7 separate regions of the Homo sapiens genome follow, and regions 2, 3, 4, 5, 6 and 7 are each linked to region 1. Evidence: promoter capture Hi-C in 16 types of primary human blood cells and fetal thymus (Javierre and others, 2016). All regions are on one chromosome and are shown on one strand. Each heading gives the region's core, a stretch centred on a gene start or on the middle of the fragment in contact. The rest is flanking DNA. Distances are from core to core; before and after follow the strand shown. Region 1 holds the start of WNT5A (Wnt family member 5A). Region 2 overlaps ERC2 (ELKS/RAB6-interacting/CAST family member 2). Region 3 overlaps ERC2 (ELKS/RAB6-interacting/CAST family member 2). Region 4 overlaps ERC2 (ELKS/RAB6-interacting/CAST family member 2). Region 5 overlaps ERC2 (ELKS/RAB6-interacting/CAST family member 2). Region 6 overlaps ERC2 (ELKS/RAB6-interacting/CAST family member 2). Region 7 overlaps ERC2 (ELKS/RAB6-interacting/CAST family member 2).

Region 1 (3,290 bases), core at 442-2,941:
TGTCTAGAAACTAAATCTGGCTGGTTCGGCAGTGAATGTGCGAAGGTGGCTGGGGGGAGGGCAGGGGCTGAGGAGGTGCGACCTCACCGCAAGGCCCAAGTTACTTCCAAACAGCGAATTACCCATTTAAAGAGAGAAGAGAGAAAAGAGAGGCGAGAGAGGAGAAGGGGCCTCGATACCAGACAGGGATTAGAAAGTCAAACAGGGCCGTGGGGTCTCCAGACTTGAAGTTTTTTGTTGTTGTTTTTTTTAACTTTTTGGGGGGAAGAGGGGTTATTTGCTTCCAGGAAACATCTTAATTTCAATTCTAACCTTATTTTCTAAGAAACTTAAAATGGGAAAGACCAGAAAAATGGAAATAGGAATCGAAGCTTGGAGGACAGATAAGAAAAATTGTTTAGAAAATAAAAACTTATGTTGCAGGAAGAAACGTTAACTTTTCGTAAAAGTGAACTCTCAGTGACCCTCGGAGTGTGTGATTCGGCTTTAACATACAACTGACAATTAAAACAAACAAGAGTTCGCAAACTGGCCCCCGCCTGCTCTCCCAAAGCGGAGGCCCAAGTGTTTTCTAAAGGACAAGGCGGACTCCGCTCAGGGGGCCGGGGAGCGCTGTCCCGGAGTACGGGATTACAGCCACTACCACCACAACTCCCCGCCCCCACCACTGCTGCAAAGTGCCTGAGCTCACCCAGTGGCGGCTAATAATGCTAATAACGCGACCCCGCTCCCCGCGCCGGGGTGCGCGCTGGCCCCCCGCCAGGCACTCTTAAAGGCAAAGGGGCCTGAAGCGCTCGAGTTACTCGGCCAAGGCAAGCCTACAATCTGGCCTCCGTCGGTGCGGGGGGGTGTCGGGGAAGGTGTACGCCGCTCTGGAGTAGTTGGCCCCTAGTTCCTCTGCGGGTTCTCTCAACCAAGGAGTCCCTTTCCCCATCCCGAGCCCCGGCCACACACCGTCCCGGTGCCCGCGCAGTGGGCGCTTGGTAAATATTTGTTGAATTGAATCATTATCCTGTTACTGAAATATACATAGTAAATTACACTCGATGTTCTCAGAGCAAAAGGAAAGTCGTCAGTGAACCGCACTCAGTTTGTCTACTATCGCTCTTCCCCACTTTTTCTCAAAAATCAAAATTGTTTGCAGAACGGGTGGTGCGACCAGAAGTGATCTCCTGGGACACTGAGGCAGTGCGCCCGGCGTGGAGGGCGAAGGGGTAGGGGTTCCTGCCAGCGACGCTGGAGTTCCAGCTTCTTCAGGCGGTTGGGGAAATGGAGGGATAGGAAGAGGCGAAGGGAACTCAGTTAACTTCCAACAGGGGGTGGGGGGAAGTAAAGAAAAAAAGTGGCAGCGCACTGAACACCTACCTTCATGGCGAGGGGGAGGGGGCGCGGGGAGGAAGTCGCCACCCGAGCGAGCGCAGCCGAGGAATCCGAGCGGAGCGACCGGGTTAAGCCTGGGGGGACGGTCAGGAGCAGGGCTGCGGAGTCCTCCGGCGCGCGTCCGGCGGGCGCAGTGAACCGGAGCTGAAGCGGGCACTGGCGCCCGGGCCTGGACTCCCGAGTTGGGGCAGAGCTGGGATGCGCCCAGGAATGGAGGGGGCGCGGACGCGCGCGAGCCGGCAGCAAGGGCAGGGCCTGGTCGGGGCGCAACTAGGGAGCCGCCGGTCCGGCGAGGGCGCGCAGGCAACTGTTCCACGGAGAGGCGCTCCGTTTCCAACGTCCATCAGCGACGGCGGTAATTAGGGCTTTCCAACCCCAAATGTGGGCGTGATTGTGCAAAAGACCTTACGACAAATAATAATAAAAAGAAATTCTTCACAAGAGGGTGAAAAAAATGTACCACTACTCAACTGTGGCCCGGGGCGGGGGAAGGGGGGCGATCTGTGCGCCCAGGTGCCCCCAGTTCATTCACACCACAGATTCTGCAAACTCTTGGCGGCTCACGCCTCCTGATCTCCAGCTCCTCCTCTCTGGGTCTGTAGCCGAAACGTCTGCTTCCAGACGCTGATCCTGCAGCCGCGAGTTAGTGTGGACGTCTCTGTACACACACAGACACACACCCCAACACACACACCCCCGCTGCAGCTTTGGGGCCACAGAACAATCAGGCGCGCATGGCTTTTTCTCCGGGAGATGCCGCTGAAAACGCACAAGTCGCCATCTGAGCTGCAAGAGTCAGCCCCAAATTGTGTCCTTTCATTTTAGGGTTCGGCAAAAACGGGGAGCAAAATAGGTGAAAGTCGCCCCGGAACTTATTGCTGTGCGGTGAGCTGGAGGGGTGCGACTAACCCAGGGGAGACGCGGGCTCCCCCCCCCCACCACGTATCCCGTTCTTTCTCTCTTCGGGTTGATCTCTCTTTTCCCCGTTTTTCCAGGGCGAAGGGCGAAGAGCAGCGAGTGCACCGCGGGCGCGAGGCTGGGGAAGGGCGAGAGCTCGGAGCTCCGCGGCGGCGACTCAGCTCCGGCGGTCCATGGCCGGCGAAGCTGCCCACCTCCTCGTTTGGCGCCCGGGTCCGAGGGGCGGGAGAGCGGGCCGGCGGGAGGCGGGCGGTCCCGGGCACAACGGCGGCGGCGGAAGGGCTCGCTGGGCAGCTGCCGCACGGACCCCGGCTCTGGGCGGCGGAGGCGGCTCCGTGGAGCTCGCAGCAGATTTCCACGCGATCCTGTGCCCCGCAAACAGACTGACCGACCGCGGGGACGCGTCCCCCCCTCCCACCCCCCAGCCCTTCTGGCCAACTGCCTTACTCTCTCCCTCCCTCTCTCCAGACTCCTCTTTCCCCTGGTGTTCTCAGAAGGAAGAAAAAAAAAAAAAGAAAGAAAGAAAGAAAGAAAAAAGTTCTTTAAAGTTTCAGAACTAGGGGCGGCTGGAAAGAGAGAGGGAAGGGGGGGGAAGAAAGAAAAAACTCAACTTTGCTATGCGCATGCGTGGTGAGGCCGGCCTATGACAAACTCTGCAGGATTTTAAAGCCGTACTACGGGCTGGGGTGCCGGGAGGCGGGGTACACTCTCCTTGTCTCCCCTTCTCTAAGTTCCCCATCCCCCGCGGCATCTGCTGAAAGAGAGAGGTCCACTCCGCAGCCGCTGCCTGCCTGCCGCCTGGTTGTCTGCGCTCCTTCCAGAGCCACCGACCGGCGGGAGGCTGAACCCCAACTTCCCCGCCTGGACCCCTTGGCTCGCCCGCGTATCCCAGACCGCTCCCACTGGGGCTCCACGGAGACTGCTGCCTTGACATGGAACCTCATGGGGGACCTCCTCATTCTTACCTCTGGGGGAGGATACTTAAGCACTGG
Region 2 (3,290 bases), core at 568-3,067, 950 kb after region 1:
CTCAGTGATTGGCCTTCTGTGCAGCAAGCAGCAGGACCTGGACTGAACCTCTGGTGTTTTGGTAACATAATAATGATATATACTTTTTTCATTAAAAAAATGATTTTCTTTCTATGGTTCCAACAGTTAAATGAATGTATCTTTTCTGTGCTTACAATCTAGATGTCTGGGTTCTAACTGGGCCACCACTTATAGAGATGTCTTCCTAGAAAAAGTGATGAAATCTAACTTGTCTTCCTCTGTCTGCTCCCTTTGTATCTAGAGATACACATTTCTGAGGTCTGTGGCTAGGCTTGAGGTCCCGGAATGTCATAAAATTTACACGCACACAGATTTAATCCTCAGTGAATTTACCTGCCTACCTGGCCAAGGCTTTGGAGAATCCCAATAACCAACAAACAAAGTTAGTTTGTTCCCTTTGGAAACACACACACATATAACATACAACATGAAAAGATGTATTATCATGTTTGAAATATTGTTTCCTTATTTAAAAAGTAATATATGTTGCCACTGGCCCATAGATTTCTTGGGTTCTCCTTTTCTAGGTTTAATAACAGATGTATGCTAGTATCATAGATAGATTGAGAAGCTTTCCATTTTTCATATGTTCTGGAACAGTTAGCATAATACCAGTCTTCCCTATTCCTGAAATATTTTGTAGAACACACACATAAAACTGAATGGGCTTGGCAGGGAATGTTGACTCCTGCTGTAATGCTAGCTACTGAGGAGGCTGAGGCAGGAGGATTGCTTGAGGACAGAAGTTCAAGACCAGTCTGGGCAATATAGCAAGACTCTGTCTCTAAAAAAAATTTTTAAATTAGCCCAGTGTGGTGTCATGTGCCTGCAGTCCCAGCTACTTGGGGAGAGTGAAGCAGGAGGATCACTTGAGCCCAGGAGTTCGAGGCTACAGTGAGCTATAACTGCACCACTGCACTCCAGCCTGGGTGACAGAGGGAGAGACCCAGTCTCTTTAAAAAAGCAAAAAACACAGAATGGGCCTAGTTGTTTATTATCTTTTCACTTTTTCACTATGTTTACTTGTCTATTTGGGTTTGCTACCTATTTTGTGTCAATTATCATTAAAACGTCCCTTCACAAACAGTCTATTCCGTGTAGATTTTCCAGTCTTATTGGCATTGCTTTGTATAACTTTTCTTTAAAATTTTTTAAATGATATAGCTTTTGGTTTTATTAATATATTTTACTGCATCTTATTTTCCATTTCATTGATATCTCTTTATCTTTAATAAAATTTCTACTTCCTTTATGGTTTTTTTTTGCCCTTTTGCATTGAATGTTCATTTCTCTTTAATCACATTTCCTAATGAATGCATATAAGATTATACACATGGCTGCATATTCCAGAATTCTATGTATAAAACTCTTATTGGCATTTGTAAATACCTTGCTGTTTTTATTTTGAAATTTTTCTATCCCAGGAATTATTGAGAATAATATATTTAAATGTCAAAGTGGATAGAAATTTTATGGTAAACTTTCTAGTTCAAATTGTATAGCATTGGGATCATAAAATGTAACATATATATTTTCCAATCTTTGAAATTTGTCAAGACTTTCTAATTGGCTTATTAGTTTTTCTTAATTATTAAACCAACTAATAGATTATTATAGAAAATTTAGAAAATACAAATATGCATAAAGCAGAAAATGAAAACACTCTCAATCCTGTCACTCATAGATAACCTCTATTAACAAGCTAGCATAATACCAGTCTTCCCTATTCCTGAAATGTTTCGTAGAACACACACATAAAACTGAATGCGGCCGGGCGAGGTGGCTCACGCCTGTAATCCCAGCACTTTGGGAGGCCGAGGCGGGTGGATCACGAGGTCAGGAGATCGAGACCATCCTGGCTAACACGGTGAAACCCCATCTCTACTAATAGTAAAGTACAAAAAATTAGCCAGGCGTGGTGGTGGGCGCATGTAGTCCCAGCTACTCGGGAGGCTGAGGCAGGAGAATGGCATGGACCCAGGAGGCGGAGCTTGCAGTGAGCCAAGATCACGCCACTGAACTCCAGCCTGGGCAACAGTGCAAGACTCTGTCTCAAAAAAAAAAAAAAAAAAGAATGGGCTTGGCAGGGCATGTTGACTCCTGCTGTAATCCCAGCTACTCAGGAGGCTGAGGCAGGAGGATTGCTTGAGGACAGCAGTTCAAAACTAGCCAGTATGTATTATGTTACTTCCAATTCCTTTTAAGTGTGTATGTGTGTGTGTGCAGTTTTAGACAAAGCCAGACAATATAAAGACTATGTAAATCAAACTATATAAAGACTATATATAAGTCTTGTATTTTCCTTTTTCTCCATGTTTTATCTTAACATCATCTCCATTTCCCACTTAACATAGATGCCACAAAGTATTTTTATAACACAAGATTTTTGACAGATACTATGAGCCTCCAAAGATGGCCATCAAAAGTCCTCTCCTTCCTATACAGAATTGTCTGTAGTTCCATTAGTTCCATCAAGAAATTGATTCTATTTCCTTTGTCCTTGAATCTGGACTGGCCTTGTGACCTGCTTAGACCAACAAATGCAGTAGAGGAGACACTGTTCCAGCTCTGAGTCTAACCCTAAAGAGGCTTGACAGTTTCTGGTTTTGCTCTCTTAAAACTCAGCTGCCATGATGCAAAGAAGTCCAAGCTATCTTGCTAAAATTAGGAGCCACACAGAACGGCCCTGGAAGATGAAATACCACATACAGAGAGAGGCCACGTGAAGGAGAACCAAAGCACCCAGCCAAGAGTCAGCACCAAAACACCAATCCAGTGAGACAAGCCATGTTGGAGCTTCCAGCCCAGCCCAGCCACCGTCTTTAATCAGCTGCATGAATAACAGCCATCACTATATGTAACAAGACCACCAATCAACCCACTGAATCAGGTGGGAAGTAAGAAATTATTATTTAAAGCCCCACTCCAAGTTTTACAGATTTTTGTTACACAGCAAAAGAACTGAAACACTTAGGTAATTATTTTTAAAATGGAAATATCATAATTAATATTGTGATTGATAAAGCTTTATAATATTTTGATTGATAAAGCTTTTCAATGTTCCGTTTGAGCAATATTCAGATTGATAAAGCTCTTACTTCCCTAGGATAAATTCTTTTTGTTGTTGTTGAGACAGACTGTTGCTCTGTCTCCCAGACTGGAGTGCAGTGGCATAATCTCGGCTCACTGCAACCTCCGCCTCCCGGGTTCAAGTGGCTAATTTTGGTATATTTAGTGGAGACAGAATTTCACCATGTTGGCTAGGCTGG
Region 3 (3,290 bases), core at 225-2,724, 820 kb after region 1:
TGAATCCTTGCGTCTTATCTCAATTTATCTTTTCCATGCAGTGCACAATTACAGTGTAGGGAGGAAAGTATGGGTTTTGAGCAATATTGGCTGAGAGTCTCTCAATTACCAGAGCTCAGTTACTGAATCTCCCCTAAGCCATAGTTTGGTCATCTGTAAAGTGGGGATAACAGTGTAGACCTCACAATGTTATTCAAAGGCTTCAGTGAGACACTGTGTGTTCCTCTAGACAAGCCCTCAAGAAAAGCGAGTCCTCAACTTCAAATACTGGTGACATTGGAGCCAAAATGCCAAGACCATTAACCTGGTGTACTTCTTTAACCAATCAGGCCACTGAAACATTAAGCATCCTCATGGCTTTTACCAGACTGTGTTTCAATAGTGTTTCCCCAAATACGTTCCCTGAAACAGCATTCTGCAGATGTTAATACGTGTTCTGTTGGGGGAGTAGTGGAAAGGAAGGGTTCTATTGTCATGTATCATATAATCATGTATTCACTATACACACACTTGCACACACACACACACACACACACACACACACACAGAATGACCCTCTCAAGGACAGTTTCTAATTTTCATAATGAAGTATAGAAGAAAGGTGAGAGGACCAGAGGGAAACTGTCTCACCAGACCGTCGGCACAAGGGAACAATTTCAGAGAGAACAGGTTTCCATTCCTCTTTGCTTAGCTATAGCTAGATTGAGGGGCTGGGGGTGCAGAGAGTTTCCTTAACCTTGGATTACTCTGTCCTGTCCTCTCCATCAAAACTCACATGCCTCACATCCACCACTCACTCATCTGACAATACTGCTCCAAAGCTGCCAACACTATGTCCACTTCACAAGAGCATAAATTGTGGTGGCTTAGGGGATTTGACTGCAATCACATCATTAGCAGATACAGGCCAGTGTCTAAAATTGAGGTTTCCTCCAGCCAATTCTACAGTCTCCCCTGCTCTAAAAATACTACAGAATTTCATCTTGAACAACTCATATAAGCTCCTATATTCATTCAGTTCTGAAAGAAGTTACAATGAAAATACAAGAAACTAAGCCCTACTTGAGTTTATATAAAAAAGAAGGAAAAATACACTTTGCCTTAGCCAACGTTTATAAGAGTGACTTCCAATAGCTACTGGAGTCAGAATCTAATCCAGATCTCAGAAGTCTAAAACACAGAAAGGTAACTAGAATGAAAATATAATTATATATGTATGATGTGCATGGAACACACAATTATTTAAATAGGGAATAGCCAGATGTTTAGAATCTACTGTGTCTTATCTCCAAACATGGAAAATATGAGCTCCTGGCAGGTTTGAAAAACTGTGTGACCTTAAGCTCTTTTCCACACTATGGGGAAAAAACAAAAATGATAAAGTTTTGCACTGTAAAGCAGCTTAGGGTTTCATTGCTATGAAAACCGTCTCCAAGCTATATAAAAATATGAATTGGCTTATATCCAAAAGTCGTGAAGTTTTTTTTTTTAATAAATCCATACTCCTTCTCAAGCAAGTACTTACCATAACTCTTTCAAAGAAAACAGAATCTCTTTGCAGACAACTTGGCCTGCTTTACTTCTCCTGTGACTTTATTTTCTTATTAATCACTTCCTAGTTTGTCTGTAATTAATGTGAAGGGCAGGTTCTCTGATCCCTTTCTCTGTAATCCTATGTACAGGCTGTACAACACTCTTCATGACTTCAAATCTTCCTTAGGCTGTGTCATGTGTGTGAAAAGACAAACAGCAGACCAGCTGAAAACATGTGGCCCCAGTGTGTGGTGGAAGAGTTGGCCTGCTGAGGGAGGTATAAAAAATTAATATTTAGACATATGGTCTAGCCTCTAGGCTTTCTCTTTTGGGGTAGAATACCCCAAGGAGAAGCACATATAACTAAATAAAGAATATGGATAGGTGATTTTTAAAAGCACTGGGACTCTGGGTTCCTCACCCACACACTGTCATTGATAACTGCATAACTCACTTTGGTTGATAATATGTGACGTTTTGCCAAGATTCATAGCACTAAGAACAGTATACATGGGAAAGCCCTCTTGGCAGTTGCTTTTGTACACAAAGAGGAGTTCTGGTTTTCATTACAGACCAATACTCTAAGGTGGCACAATATTGGAATACTGCACTGAGCTTAGAGTTAAGGACTTAAGTTCTAATTCTAGCTTTGCAACTAACCAGTTACGTGATCTGGGGAAAAATCACTAAACTTGTCTCAGCTTCCGAGAACAGTGGTGAAGAGTTGAGTTTTGAATCCTGGATCTACCCATGACAGCCTGTGATGCCTTGAACAAATTACTTAAGTACTCTGAGCATCAGGCTACTCATCCGTAAACAGGAAATAATAATTGTAACTCACTACAGGGTTCATACAAACACCACAGGAGATGCTTACTGAGTGAGCAAACAAGTTCCCTTAAAGCCTGAAGCACAGGGCTTGGCACATAATGAATGCTCCACAAATGTTAGCTATTTTCATTATTTTGAGACACTGGTGGTGGCTAGAGGCCTGGAATTAAAATTTCTGTCCTCCCTCCTCCGATTTGGGCAGGGAAAAGAAACGGGCATAATGAACATAAATCTTTGATTATCAAATAAATGCAACAGTGGGAAACAAAATGCTAAGCGCTTTGGCATTTTTTTAAATAAGAGAAAAAGGGAAATAGATGTTTTAAGACCAATTCGAAGATGGATATAATTTATTTCACATTAACTGACCTGTAAATAACTCTACAAGGGACTCTCAGGAATACCAACCATTTCTGTTTTGAAGGTCAGTGTTCTTTCCCTGTTGTTAGCCAGTAATCCACAACCAACTAAAGGATAATGGCATGCCCTGTTATCAACACTTCTCAACCTGATACAGGTTACAAAAAAAACTACAGTTTAAGAAATACTGGTATTTTAAAAATGTGTTGAGAAGCTACCCCAAACGTGTAATGATAGAAACGATAGCTAAAATAGAAACGCTTATAATATTAACAGTCACAGCCATATACAGTTATTATAGGACGGCTCTTTCATTTAACTGCTTAGCAAATGTTTAATGCCAATGATGTTTTAAAGGTTTTATTGAAATTTCCTTCCCTGTCACTTCCTCTTCACCCTCCAACATGTTCATTTAGCAAAACTGCTAACCATCTAAGTACTTTTCAGAATTGTAAGATGTCTTACCTAAATTAATATCATTTCAAATAGCTGGGTGGCAGGCATTGAACTATATTAACTTTCCCCTACTCTGAGCTGCCTGGGTTCATCAGCCAAACTCTAGTCCT
Region 4 (3,290 bases), core at 277-2,776, 810 kb after region 1:
CAACCTGCATCCAAATACATCAGACAATGCTAGTGAGTAATGCTGAGTTTCGGCCAACCCTTTGGCTCACATTAGCACATCAGTTGGAGTTCCTGCGCAATGGTTTTGGTCTTCCAAGTAAGTTGAGATCATAACCTTTTTGTTGTTGTTTCCTGCCAGACAAAGAAGTGGTTTCACACTCAGCCTTTTCCAGACCACCAAAAGACAATAAGACACTAAAGCAACCCACCCCATATGCAACTCCTGCCAACTCCAAATCTCCTAAAACAATAAGCTGAACAAGGCCAGGAGATGGGGTTTATGTGAGGTCCACCACCTCTGCCTAAGAATGAATCATAAAACCACTAGCACTCCATTCCCCAGCTTCACACTGCCTAGCCCCAACCTACTCGAACTGTGCATAATGAAAATGAAATCAGGAACACACTGAACCTAAAACCTCAAGTACATTTTAAATCTTGTTTTAGATTCATCTATATTAACAGAGGTCAGGCAATTTCTTTATTCAAGCTAAGTTATTCTTACTGGTATAATGACAAAAGTGGTCAGACACATTCTTTCTACTAAAAAAAAAAAAAAAATACCCTGACAAAGTACATTCTAAAACTCAGTAGAGAATATGGAAATAGCTTGCAATAAACTTTGCCTTATAAAATAACTAATGAAGGAAATAACCCAGTTATTTGGCAATGGGAAACAACCATTTGTATATTATTACGTATTTGGTAGGTCATTAATTAGAAGCACTTTTTATTTTCTAGCATAGCATTTTTCAAAAATGTCTTACAAAGAACACCAGTGCAACAAGAGAAAAGCAAGTCACGTAAGTTTGAGAAGCTCTGCCTTCTCTGGTCCCCTTCTTGGAAATGACTAATGCATATTTGCATATTAAAGACTGAGACTGTAACTCTGTGGAATCCCTCATTTCCCCAAGTTCACTTGGCACTGCAACCCTTTTTCTCTCATAACACATATCAACAGCCCACAAAATGGCTGTTCTGCCAAGCACAATTTGGGGAAAATTTCTTCTAGAAATGGGATGTAGGCCAGGCACGGTGGCTCACACCTGTAATCCCAGCACTTTGGAAGGCTGAGGCAGGCAGATCGCTTGAGCTCAGGAGCCTAGCCTGGGCAACATGGTGAAACCCCGTCTGTACCAAAAATACAAAAAAAAAAAAAAAAAATAGCCAGGCATCGTGGCACATGCCTGTAGTCCCAACTATTCAGGAGGCTGAGGTGGGAGGATCACTTGAACCTGGGAGGTAGAGGTTGCAGTAAGCCGAGACTGTGCCACTGTACTCCAACCTGGGTGACAGAGTGAGACCCCGTCCCCCACCGCCCCCCGCAAAAAAAAGAAAAGAAAAGGGACATAGTAAAATGGTTTAAGAGCTGAGACTCCAGAGTCAGGCTGATTCAAACACTAGCTTCACCATTTGTTAGCAGTGTGACATTGGGTTTGTCCCTCTGTTCCCCCAGGTAAGATGGGCAAAGTAACAGCACCTACCTCCTAGGCCATGGGTCTTTCCATCTGAGTGGAACAGTCTTCTGAGATCCTCACATGGCTGGTCCTTTTGGTTATGCAGGTCTCAGTTCATACTGTCACCCCCTCCAAGAGGCCTTCCCTGACAACCCAACATAAAATTAGCCCCACCCACATCACCAGTGCTTCACTCTCTTCTTCATGACACGCCTCTATTTAAACCATAAAATTGTCATCTATTTTCCCCCAATAGAATGTAAGCACCATGAAGGTACATTTTGTTAATTATCATTGCTATATCCCAAAACAGATCTTCAATAAGTATTCATCCAACGAAGGAATGAATGGATGGATTAATGAATGAATGAATGGATGGATGAATGAATAAATGAATGAATGAATGAGATGATTCAGTGTGAATCAACGTAAAGCATTCTTCATGATGCCTGACACATAAGCTGACACATACAGATGCTATTTTGAAAACTTTTGGGGAACCGTGAGTGGTTAATACACACATAATCATAATTCTCCCAATAAGTAACATTATGACTCCACAGTGTATCCTCTTGCTGTATTAGAGGTAAACATTTCACAACATTCATTCAGAGGTGTGCCAGTAAACCAGCTTTCAGGAATGGGCAAGGGAATGGGGAAGGTAGTCCCTAAGAGTAGCATCTTCCAATTTCCATGGTGTAAATACACCAAATATGACCAATTCCAGGCTACGTGTGGTTTAACACCAGGATCATGAGATTCCTGAGAATTTAACAAATGGCTCTCACAGGGCAGTACAACCCTTCTCATGGGAATGATCCTTTCAGGCCTTCAAGTCTTGTTTGCTGAGTTCAAGTTTAACATGAGTCTTTTATATACAGATGTATTTTCCAAATTCTCCCCCTCTTGATGAGCTAAAATAAGGGCTACCTACTCACTTTGGTCTGATGCTCAGGGAAACTAGTTGAATGTATTGGTCTGCACTTTCTGTTCTCCCTTCTGTGTGCTTTCAAACTGGTGTTTAGGGATCTAAACATGATCTATATCCACACCAGACCATTGTGAGAACCAGCCAATCTCAGAAAACCCAAGATGAATTGTGTTTAGATTCATTTAAATGGAGGCAGCCACATAAGGCACCATCTAGTAAGTGCTATCAATGAGCAGAATCTAATTGCAGAAGAAGAATGACTCCACCCTGACCACAAGATCCCAACAAGGAGTGAGAAATGGTGCTGCAGATGGAGATTTCTCTGGCATCACAGCCTTGCTGCCCCTTGGCATCAAAATAAAACAGCAGCTTTTTCCAACTATAGTGATCCTCTATCAACTGCAGTTTTGAGATAACACAAGAAAAATTCCAAAATCCACAGTTAGTCTACATGCAAGTAACAACATGCCAGTAATTGTTGCTCCTCTTCTGTAAACTACATGAGAGGTCTATGAAGTAAGACATGGAGAAAATTACTTTCTGCTCTACTGTATTTGTTATCTATTGCTGTGTAACAAATTACCTTAAAATTGAGCAGCTTAAAAGAGTACACATTTATTATCTCACAGTTTCTGTGTGTCAGGAATCAAGGCACAACTTAAGTGGTTCCTCTGTTTCACAGTCTCTCACAGCCTGCAATCAAGATGTCATCCCAGGACCTGTCTTCTTATCTGAAGCTCGACTGGGAAAGGATCCACTTCCAAGCTCACTAAATGGCTGTTACCAGGTTTCCTTTCTTTGTGGCTGTTGAAATGAGTGCCTCTGTTCCTTACTGAGTGTTGGCTGGAGGCCACCCTCAGTTCCTTACCACATGGGCCTCTC
Region 5 (3,290 bases), core at 436-2,935, 780 kb after region 1:
GTAATCCCGACACTTTGGGAGGCCAAGGTGGGTAGATCACCTGAAATCAGGAGTTCGAGACCAGCCTGGCCAACATACTGAAATCTTGTCTCTCCTAAAAATACAAAAATTAGCCAGGTACAGTGGTGTGTGCCTGTAGTCCCAGCTACTCAGGCGGCTGAGGCAGGAGAATCACTTGAACCTGGGCGGTGGAGGTTGCAGTGAGTTGAGATCATGCCACTGCACTTCAGCCTGGGTGACAGAGTGAGAATCCGACCAAAAAAATAAAATAAAATAAAATAAAATAAAATAAAATAAAATAAAATAAAATAAAATAAAATTCAACAGAAAAAATACAAAAACAAAAACACAAATAACTAGATTTTTTTTTTTTTTTTTGAGACGGAGTCTTGCTCTGTCTCCCAGGCTGGAGTGCAGTGGCACAATCTCGGCTCACTGCAAGCTCCGCCTCCCAAGTTCATGCCATTCTCCTGCCTCAGCCTACCGAGTAGCTGGGACTACAGGCGCCCACCACCATGCCCAGCTAATTTTTTGTATTTTTAGTAGAGACAGGGTTTCACCGTGTTAGCCAGGATGGTCTCGATCTCCTGACCTTTTGATCCACCCGCCTCGGCCTCCCAAAGTGCTGGGATTACAGGTGTGAGCCACCGCACCCAGCAAATAACCAGATTTTTAAATGAGCAAAGGACCTAAATAGGCATTTCTCCAAATAAGTCAAAAAATAGTCTTCAGGTTTATGGAAAGGTGCTCAACATCACTAATCATGATGGAAATAACAAATCAAAACCACAATGAGATATCTCCCCACTCCTGTTGGAATGGCATTAGCAAAAAACAAGAGGTAGCCAGGTGAGGTGGCACATGCCTTTAGTCCCAGCTACTCGGGAGGCTGAGGTATAAGGACCACTTGAGCCCAGTAATTTGAGGCCAACCTAGGCAACACAGCAAGACCTTGTCTGTGTAAATAAATAAATAAGCAAACAAACAAGAGGTAACAAATGTTGGCAAGGATATGGAGAGAAGAGAACCCTTAAATACTGTTGGTCAGAATGCAGACTTTTAAATAAAACTACCATATGACACAGCAATCCTTCTTCTAGATATATACTCCAAGGAAATGAAGTCACCACCTCATAAAGATATCTGCACTCCCACATTCACTGCAGCATTATTCACAATAGCCAAGATATGGGAACAACCAAAGTGTCTGTTGACAGATAAATGGATAAAGGAACACATACAGGTTGAGAATCCCTTATCCAAAATGCTTGGGACCAGAAGCATTTTGGATTTCTGATTTTTTTTTCAGGTTTTGGAATATTTGCATTATTCTTAACAGTTGAACATCCCAAATACAAAAATCCAAAATCCAAAATGCTCCAATTAGTTTTTCCTTTGAACATCATGTCAGCACTTTAAAAGTTTCAGATATTGGAGCATTTCGAATTTCAGATTTTTGAATTTAGGATACTCAACCTGTATACACACACACACAGTGGAATATTATTTTGCTTTTAATAAGGAGATCCTGCTATTTGGGTCAACGTGGGTGAAGCTATAAGACATTATGCTAACTGAAATAAACCAAACACAGAAAGAAAAAGGCTACATGATCTCACTTACATGTGGAATGTTTTTTAAAAATCAAATACAATAGAAACAGGATAGAAGAATGGTTATGGCAGGAAGCGGGGACAGTGGGTAAAACAGGGAGATGTTGGCAGGGCGCAGTGGCTCACGCCTGTAATCCCAGCACTTTGGGAGGCCAAGGCGGGTGGATCATGAGGTTAGGAGTTTGAGACCAGGCTGGCCAACATGGTGAAACCCCGTCTGTACTAAAAATACAAAAAAAAAAAAAATTAACTGGGTGTGGTGGCAGGCACCTATAATCCCAGCTATTCGGGAGGCTGAGGCAGGAGAATCACTTGAACCCAGGAGGCGTAGGTTGCAGTGAGCCGAGATCTTGCCACTGCACTCCAGCCTGGGCAAAAGAGCGGAACTCCATCTCAAAAACAAAACAAAACAAAAAAACAGGCAGATGTAGGTCAAGTACAAAGTTGTAATTACATAGGATGAATAAATCTAGAGATCTAATGTTCAGCATGAGGACTATAGTTAATAACAATACATATTATTAACTATAGTTTTATAGATATATTCCAGTATTGCATAATGGAAATTTGCTAACAGAGTAGATTTTAGGTACTCTTACCACACAGACACAATCAAGAAAGGTAACTACATGACATGTTGGATATGTTCATTTGCTTGAATATTGTAATCACTTCACAATGTACAGTCAATTCCTGCATCATGATGTCTCGATAAATGACGGACCACATATATGACACTAGTACCATATGATTATAATACTGTATTTTTACTGGACGTTTTCTATGTTTAGAAATATTTAGATACACCATTGCATTACAATTGCCTACAATATTCAGTCCAGTAATATGCTGTACAAGTTAGTAGCCTAGGAGCAATTGGCTATACCATATAGCCTAGGTATGTAGGAAGCTATACTATCCAGGTCTATGTAAGTATACTCTACAATGTTCACGCAATGTCAAATTGCCTAAAACGCATTTCTTAGAACGTATCCCCATCGTTAAGCAACACATGATTGTGTATCAAAACATCATGTTGTATACCTTATATTTATACAATAAAAATAAATAAAAAGCACATATATAAAAAACAAAATAAATATAAGAGAATTCTAAAATTCTAAAATACATATTTGTTCTAGCCCCTACACACCTTCAGCAAGTAAAAACTTGAGAAATTCTCAGTATTCCAGAATAATACAGAATTTATATTTGCTAACTTACAAAATAAATCAACTTTTAATGTGTTATAATTGTTTAATTTGTTATATTATAGTAAGCCTAACTGGTATAAGTGACTTGACTCCCACTTAATCTAAAGCAAGTCTAATAACTTTTAAATTTCAATTAAACATTGAAAGACCAAAATAGAAGGGCAGGCCAATTTGGTAAAGTTTACTCCCCCAATCTAACAAAACGTATCGCTTTACAAGTTCTAATTTTCACCAGCCTTCTCCCAGACCTTTCCACACTATATACTCAGCTGACTTTAACCTGATGTGGAATGTCCCTAAAGTTGATTGTGCATGACTGTATATGTATATCAAAACATTATGTGGTACGCCTTAAATTTGTGAGTGAGACCATTCCTATTTTCTAGTAACAATCAGCTAGGTTTGAGGTTAAAGATACAAATAGGAGGCAAAATTATAATAGAAAAAAAATTTCAGATCCATC
Region 6 (3,290 bases), core at 350-2,849, 750 kb after region 1:
AAGGGAAAAAATTATGAAGAGATTACCCTAAGACTCAGCATCCAAACAATAACTTTATAAAGAATAAACGAGCCAGGCATGGTGGCTCATGCCTGTAATCCTAGCACTTTCGGAGGCCGAGGCGGGCAGGTTGCCTGAGCTCAGGAGTTTGCGACCAGCGTGGGCAACATGGTGAAACCCTGTCACAAAAAATTAGCCAGGCATGGTGGCATGCGCCTGTTGTCCCAGCTACTCTGGAGGCTAAGGCAGGAGAATTGCTTGAACCCAGGTGGCAGAGGTTGCAGTGGGCCGAGATCCCACCACTGCACTCCAGCCTGGGCGACAGAGTGAGTCTCTGTCTGAAAAAATAAAATAAAATAAAAAGAAGATAAAAAGAATAAACGAAAGCCATGCTAAAAGCAGATAAAGACTAGAAACACTGAGAAGTATTTACTATTATTACTTGGGAGCATTAACTTAGAAGTACCTAGAGATGTCAACTGTGAAATACTAATCTGAGTTTTAATTTTTCTCATTTTTATACTAATTACAAAGACAGATGTGCTTACTACGCGCACTGCTTAAACAAGTATAGTAAAAGAAACAGCTTTCCCCCTTCTGATCGGAGGCATAAATAATATTTCTGTAGTATGTTCTATTCCCATATATCACAGAACTGGCTGAAATGTATCTCTGGCTTCCATAAATCATAAGTACAGTTAAGCAGAACCTCCTCCTCCAATGTAGAAAACAAACATAGAGCAATGAAATCTAGAGTTACACAATATTTGAGTGTGAGTTTCTTCATAGTCCATTTTAATTGATTTATACAGACAGGAAAGAGGGGGAACATTAAACCTTTTACAAACCTTCCCGAGTTTGCCTAATTAGGCCAGTCCTGCATAAAGAGCTTCATAGTTTTGGAAAATCCAAGAGCAATGAAATAAAAATGAGATAAATTAGGGGAAAACACACATATTCTAACACCTGTTCTTAAATCCTGTGCTTCTAACAAAGGGAAAGTTATAAGTAATGGACACGAAGAACAATGACCAGCTTCTTCACCAGGCCACAGAATTGTATCTCTGAAATTTCAATCCACATTTTACCTTTAAGAAGGAAATCTGTGAAACAAGCCAAAACCATCAAAAGTGTACATGAAAAGTCATGCTTGATGGGAGAAGTTTATTTAACAGAACATTAACTGAGATGTGTAAAATAACTAATCTCAGTCAGGACTGAAGATAGTAATTTTTTAAAAAAGCATTTTCAATTTTTGTTTAAAAATGTGCTCAGAATCTTCATGTCTAGTAAGTTGCTGAGTAAATGTAAATGTAAAAACTAAAATACCTAAAGTAAATGACCCTGTTTAAAAAAATATTTAAGGCAGTGCTAAATCATCTACCATATTTCTTCTGAATTTAAGACACCAACAATTATAAGAAGCATCTTAATTTATACCCACAGAGAAAAGAAAATCTTGTAATAGCACCACCAACTGTGAGATGCAGTCCAATTTCAGAGACACAAAAATATGCTTAAAAATGAGTCATTTAAATATGGAAAACATATCCAGCTATTAAACTTGAAAAAGCTAGAATAAACATTTGTGTAAAACGACCACTTAGCAAATACTTGTAGAATAAATGGAAAAACGAATGACTTTACAAACAACTTTCTTTTTAAAATTTTTTTATATATTCAGGGGTACATGTGCAGGTTGGTTACGTGGATATATCGTGTGATGCTGAGGTTTGGGTTTCCATTGTACCCATCACACAAATTGTGAACTCTATATCCAATAGGTAATTTTTCAGTCCTCACTCTCCTTTCCTCTCCCCCATTTTGGAGTCCCTAGTGTCTACTGTTACCCTCTGAATGTGTACATATACCCATTGTTTAGCTCCCACTTACAATTAAGAGATCACACAATATTTGATTTTCTGTTTCTGAGTTACTTCACTTAGGATAATGGCATCCAGCTCCATCCATATTGCTGTGAAAGACATGAAAAGGACTGATATCCAGAATCTACAAAGAACTCAACTCAACAAGAAAAAACAAAAACCCCATTAAAGAGTGGGAAAAGGACCTGAACAGACATTTCTCAAAAGAAGACGCACAAGCAGCTAACAAACACATGAAAAAAATGCTCAACATCACTAATTATCAGAGAAATGCAAATTAAAACCACAACAAGATATCATCTCACACCAGTCAGAATAGCTATCATTAAAAAGTCAAAAAACAACAGATGTCAGTGAGGCTGTGGAGAAAAGGTACGCCTTATACACTGTTGGTAGGAATGTAAATTTATAACAGCTCTATGGAAAACAGTGCGGAGATTTCTCAAAGAACTAAAAATAAAACTACCATTCAACCCAGCAAATCTACTACAGAATATCAACCCAAACAAACAACTTTCTTGATAGAAAATTGGAATAAGGAAAATTTCTGTATATATGATCATAGAGATAAGATCATAGATCATAGAGCTATACATATGATCATAGAAACAGATAGTTCCCCCTTCACCGAGTCTTTCCCTTACTACTTTGGACCACCTTTCTCTTCCATCTCAGAGTTCCTACAAATGTTGGCATAAAAAAGCACACACTCTAACACTAGTTTTACATGCAAACACATATCCACATACATACACACTCACCTACATGCTAGAGCAGGGGTCAACTAATGATGACATATGGGTTAAATGCCAGCTGCCAGTTTTGTAAATAAAGCTGTATTTGAACAAATTCATGCTCACTTGTTTATGTATTTTCTATGGCTGCTGTTTCCATGCTACAATGGCAGCATTAAATAATTACAAGAGACAGAATGGCCCTCAAAGCCTGCAGTATTTATCATCTGGCCGTTTAAGAAAAAGTTTGCTGAACAATTCACAATTGCAAAAATATGGAACCAACCTAAATGCCCATCAACCAACAAATGGATAAAGAAAATGTGGTATATGCACACCATGGAATACTACTCAGCCATAAAACGGAACAAAATAATGGCCTTTGCAGCAACTTGGATGGAGGCCATTTTTCTAAGTGAAGTAACTCAGGAATGGAAAACCAAATACCAAATGTTCTCATTTATAAGTGGGAGGTAAGCTATGAGGACATACAAGCATAAGAATGATATAATGGACTTTGGGGACTTGGGGAAGGATGGAAGGCGGAAGAGATAAAAGACTACATATTGGGTACAGTGTACACTGCTCAGGTGACGGGTATACCAAAATCTCAGAAATCACCACTGAAGGACTTATCCATATAACCAAAAACCACCTGTTCCCCCAAAAC
Region 7 (3,290 bases), core at 455-2,954, 740 kb after region 1:
TTTTTCTCTCTGCTTTTTGTCAGGCTAACATTAGGTACTGACTAAGCATTAGCAAGTGTCAATAATGCAGAAGCCACCCACTTCTGCAAAACTGGGAATTGAATTCAAACAATGTTATTCTTCTGGTTTTGGTTATAGAATTCAAGAGATATTATTTCAGAGTCTACAAAAGTTGTCATCTCACCAAAAAAAAAAAAAAAGTAATTCTTGCTCATTGACTTTATTTATGCAGCATTCCCTGTAGAATAATAATAGATGCTTTACACAGAGTCCTGCACAGCAATCTTGCAACCTCCTATAGAAGAGAACACTGAGGGCAGGTTATGAACTTGCCCAAAGCCACACTCAATTCCAAGGTGTACTACCTACCTCCATGTAAACATCCTGTCATTTCTGCATAAAATCTAAAAAGCAGCCGGGCACAGTGGCTCACGCCTGTAATCCCAGCACTTTGGGAGGCCGAGGCGGGTGGATCACGAGGTCAGGAGATCGAGACCATCCTGGCTAACTCAGTGAAACCCCGTCTCTACTAAAAATACAAAAAATTTGCAGAGTGTGGTAGTGGGCGCCTGTAGTCCCAGCTCCTTGGGAGGCTGAGGCAGGAGAATGGTGTGAACCCAGGAGGCGGAGTGAGCAGAGATCGTGCCACTGCACTCCAGCCTGGGCGACAGAGCAAGACTCCGTCTCAAAACAAAAAAAAAAATCTAAAAAGCATTTCAAAATTCCTGAAACAATCTACACAATAGTACAATGAGAAGCTCTGTCATCTTCTGATTAAAAAATAAAAACTGAGGATACAAGAAGTAATTGATGACTCAGATAATTCACTCATCAGTGTAAGAAGAGATACCATTTTACTGTCAGGTACTGTCAAGAGTATATTAAAATGTTTTTAGTAATCAAAGGCAATGCTACTAGCAACATAGGACTCCAGATACTGAAAATTACTGAGGGTACTACATCCATGTGAAAATTATTGGTGCTGAGAAAGGCAGATAATATGAGATATACTGGTTGGAAGGACAGAGCAGATTAAAGTTATAGATTATATCTTCTGTTTGTGAGAAATGTCCACAACATACAGCTTGAACCCAGGTTCTCTAAGCCACATCCACACTACATTCCTCTTAGTTTCCCATGCAAACAATTTCTGTTTTTCCCTGACCTGCTGCAGAGAATGTCCCCCTTCATGGAACACCATGGACACACCACCACCACCACCTCCTGCTCCCCCATCATCCATTGGCCAACTGTTATTCTTCTCTCAATTCTCAACTACAACACCATTTGCTTGGTGAGGCCTTGTCTGACTGTTTAAAATAAGCTTGGGTGCTCTTGCGTACCACTGCCCAAAATTTTCTGTCTTCCCCCTTTCTGAACCATCTACTCATAAGTACTTATCTAATTTTTGGCTCCCCTAGAATGGAAGGTCAGAGTACAGTCACCATGTCGATCTTGAGCAATGAATATACTCCACACCTCCCCCATAGTAAATGCTCAACAAATATTGAATAGATGAATGAATGATAAACAAATGCTATACAACCGCTATAGCTAGATGCAAAATACATCATAGTCATCTTGTTTCTATGGGTCACAAAACCATACAAAAGCCTCCTGGCCACGACATGTGAAATGGAAAAAAGGAGACCTCTAGACAGACTCCCTCAAGCCTGGCAGAGCTTCAGGCAATGCCTGTATCTTTCCTCCATCCTGGGAACAAGCAGTTCCCTTCGTTGGCTTCGTATTGAGACCATCATACTTGTCTCCTCCCTCTATCTGCTCAGGGAGCAGCCATCCCCAGCTGGGTGCCTCTTCTCATGACAGGAATGAACACAGACTGTGCCACCACAGACCAAGCTCAGAGAGAAGAATTTAACCACTTCCCTCCCAAAAACAGGGCAGCTGACCATGTCTGTAGACAAATGTAGCTCTGTGGAATCTGGACTGTCCTCATCTCTTCATGTTCCATTTTTCAAAGGAATCTTTGTTTCTAAAATGAACATTTTGAAAACCAGGAATAGAGCATCCAAGTAAGTCAGTATGAATGATCCCACTGGAGGAGATTCCTTTGCTGGAAGAGCAAAGCTTGCTGGCATTGTGGTGGGACCTCTGTTAACCACTGTCCCCATTTCACACCACACTGATTGAATTATGCCTCTTAGATGGAAAAATATTTTCCCCAAAACCAAGATGGCACATAAATTGAAGGCAACATACGCAAGAAAGTGGAAGCCACATTTGTCAAATGCAGAGAGGATGAATTAATAAAAGGACAACAAACTCAAAGGCTACCAAAGAAAAATGGCAAAAAAAAAAAAAAAAAAAAAATGACAACCATTTTAAGTCTAGTTGACTTAGCAGGATAACCACACTATTTCTGCTGACACTTTAGCCCTGCAATGTATATAACTCTCCCCTTTTTTAAAATCCCTGCTTCTTGGCACCTATACCCTGACTACTGAACCTCTCTTTGGCACTCTCTGTAGTGACTAATTAGGACCCAGCCCTAGTAATAAAGCAGGGGGCCAACATTTTATCTTAGGATCCTTATTCTCTGAGTGACTATTTCTATGCTAAAAATTACTTGCAGTATTTTCCTCTCCACTAAGTACATTTTTAAAATACATTCTACAAAACATTATCTCCACATGTTAAAAGCTGCTAATTCTACATGTTAATTCAATCACATCTTTCAATGATATATTCTTACATAACTTCAAGTGAATAATATGTAAAGAGATATCCATAGCAACTTAGAATATAAACAAAAAATGACATATAGATTTTAAAGTTTGTGTATGTCCACCATCTGTCAATTAGTTTCACTAAGTAATATATTCATATACTCACAGAGTTATGTATAATCATATTTTTAGATTCAGATCAGCAAGAATGCTCAAGTTTAGCACAGCCAAAGGCTGGCTAGAGTGTGGAAAAGTCAGCCCTCTCATGCTCTGTGGGTGGATGTCTTAAGCAGCACAACTCATTTATAAGGGAATGTGGTAAAATTTTAATTAATTGTCCCACCAATCCCACTACTAGGAATTTGTCCAGTGAATTATTTACACAAGGACCTTAGTGTTTACGTTAAAGGATGTCTATAGCAGCATTATTCAGGGCACACACAAAAAAACCAAAATGTCCAAATCCAGAATAAAGAGGAAATAAGAAAGATAAAAATGACCAGGAGTTCAAGCTACAGCTTGAGTGGCAGGGGTGAGGGGTTTTTCATGGTGATGGAAATAGAGATGGCGGGGGTAAAAGGAACACAGAGCAGGTGAGGAGAG

The links. The method cuts DNA at HindIII sites, captures the fragments that hold promoters and counts their contacts. A CHiCAGO score of 5 or more calls a contact.
Region 2: a contact is called between a fragment that was not itself captured here and the fragment with the promoter of WNT5A in region 1, in 1 of 17 cell types (monocytes). The highest score is 6.0, in monocytes.
Region 3: a contact is called between a fragment that was not itself captured here and the fragment with the promoter of WNT5A in region 1, in 1 of 17 cell types (monocytes). The highest score is 6.0, in monocytes.
Region 4: a fragment that was not itself captured here is called in contact with the fragment with the promoter of WNT5A in region 1 in 1 of 17 cell types (monocytes); the score reaches 5.1 in monocytes.
Region 5: a fragment that was not itself captured here is called in contact with the fragment with the promoter of WNT5A in region 1 in 3 of 17 cell types (M0 macrophages, endothelial precursors and monocytes); the score reaches 8.6 in M0 macrophages.
Region 6: a fragment that was not itself captured here is called in contact with the fragment with the promoter of WNT5A in region 1 in 5 of 17 cell types (monocytes, M0 macrophages, M2 macrophages and 2 more); the score reaches 9.7 in monocytes.
Region 7: a contact is called between a fragment that was not itself captured here and the fragment with the promoter of WNT5A in region 1, in 1 of 17 cell types (monocytes). The highest score is 5.6, in monocytes.

Annotation. Positions count from the first base shown.
Region 1 is chr3:55,485,615-55,488,904 of GRCh38, forward strand. WNT5A (Wnt family member 5A) reads right to left here and starts at 1,692. Exons shown (of 5, transcript NM_003392.7): 1 at 1,366-1,692. The coding sequence starts at 1,371. It overlaps WNT5A-AS1 (WNT5A antisense RNA 1), which reads left to right and starts at 2,004. Exons shown (of 2, transcript NR_046656.1): 1 at 2,004-2,265; 2 at 2,376-2,694. The HindIII fragment of the contact is 5,010 bases long and covers 370-3,290 here.
Region 2 is chr3:56,438,473-56,441,762 of GRCh38, forward strand. All of the region lies in intron 1 of ERC2 (ELKS/RAB6-interacting/CAST family member 2), which reads right to left. It overlaps LOC105377099 (a long non-coding RNA gene), which reads left to right. Exons shown (of 3, transcript XR_940862.3): 3 at 2,647-2,905. Among named protein-coding and RNA genes, the nearest start is that of ERC2, 28 kb to the right of the region's middle. The HindIII fragment of the contact is 2,454 bases long and covers 591-3,044 here.
Region 3 is chr3:56,307,316-56,310,605 of GRCh38, forward strand. The region is part of intron 2 of ERC2 (ELKS/RAB6-interacting/CAST family member 2); the gene reads right to left. Among named protein-coding and RNA genes, the nearest start is that of ERC2, 160 kb to the right of the region's middle. The HindIII fragment of the contact is 9,723 bases long and covers 1-3,290 here.
Region 4 is chr3:56,291,258-56,294,547 of GRCh38, forward strand. All of the region lies in intron 3 of ERC2 (ELKS/RAB6-interacting/CAST family member 2), which reads right to left. Among named protein-coding and RNA genes, the nearest start is that of ERC2, 180 kb to the right of the region's middle. The HindIII fragment of the contact is 4,131 bases long and covers 1-3,290 here.
Region 5 is chr3:56,265,771-56,269,060 of GRCh38, forward strand. All of the region lies in intron 3 of ERC2 (ELKS/RAB6-interacting/CAST family member 2), which reads right to left. Among named protein-coding and RNA genes, the nearest start is that of ERC2, 200 kb to the right of the region's middle. The HindIII fragment of the contact is 3,668 bases long and covers 1-3,290 here.
Region 6 is chr3:56,239,165-56,242,454 of GRCh38, forward strand. The region is part of intron 3 of ERC2 (ELKS/RAB6-interacting/CAST family member 2); the gene reads right to left. Among named protein-coding and RNA genes, the nearest start is that of ERC2, 230 kb to the right of the region's middle. The HindIII fragment of the contact is 3,700 bases long and covers 1-3,290 here.
Region 7 is chr3:56,221,210-56,224,499 of GRCh38, forward strand. All of the region lies in intron 3 of ERC2 (ELKS/RAB6-interacting/CAST family member 2), which reads right to left. Among named protein-coding and RNA genes, the nearest start is that of ERC2, 250 kb to the right of the region's middle. The HindIII fragment of the contact is 764 bases long and covers 1,323-2,086 here.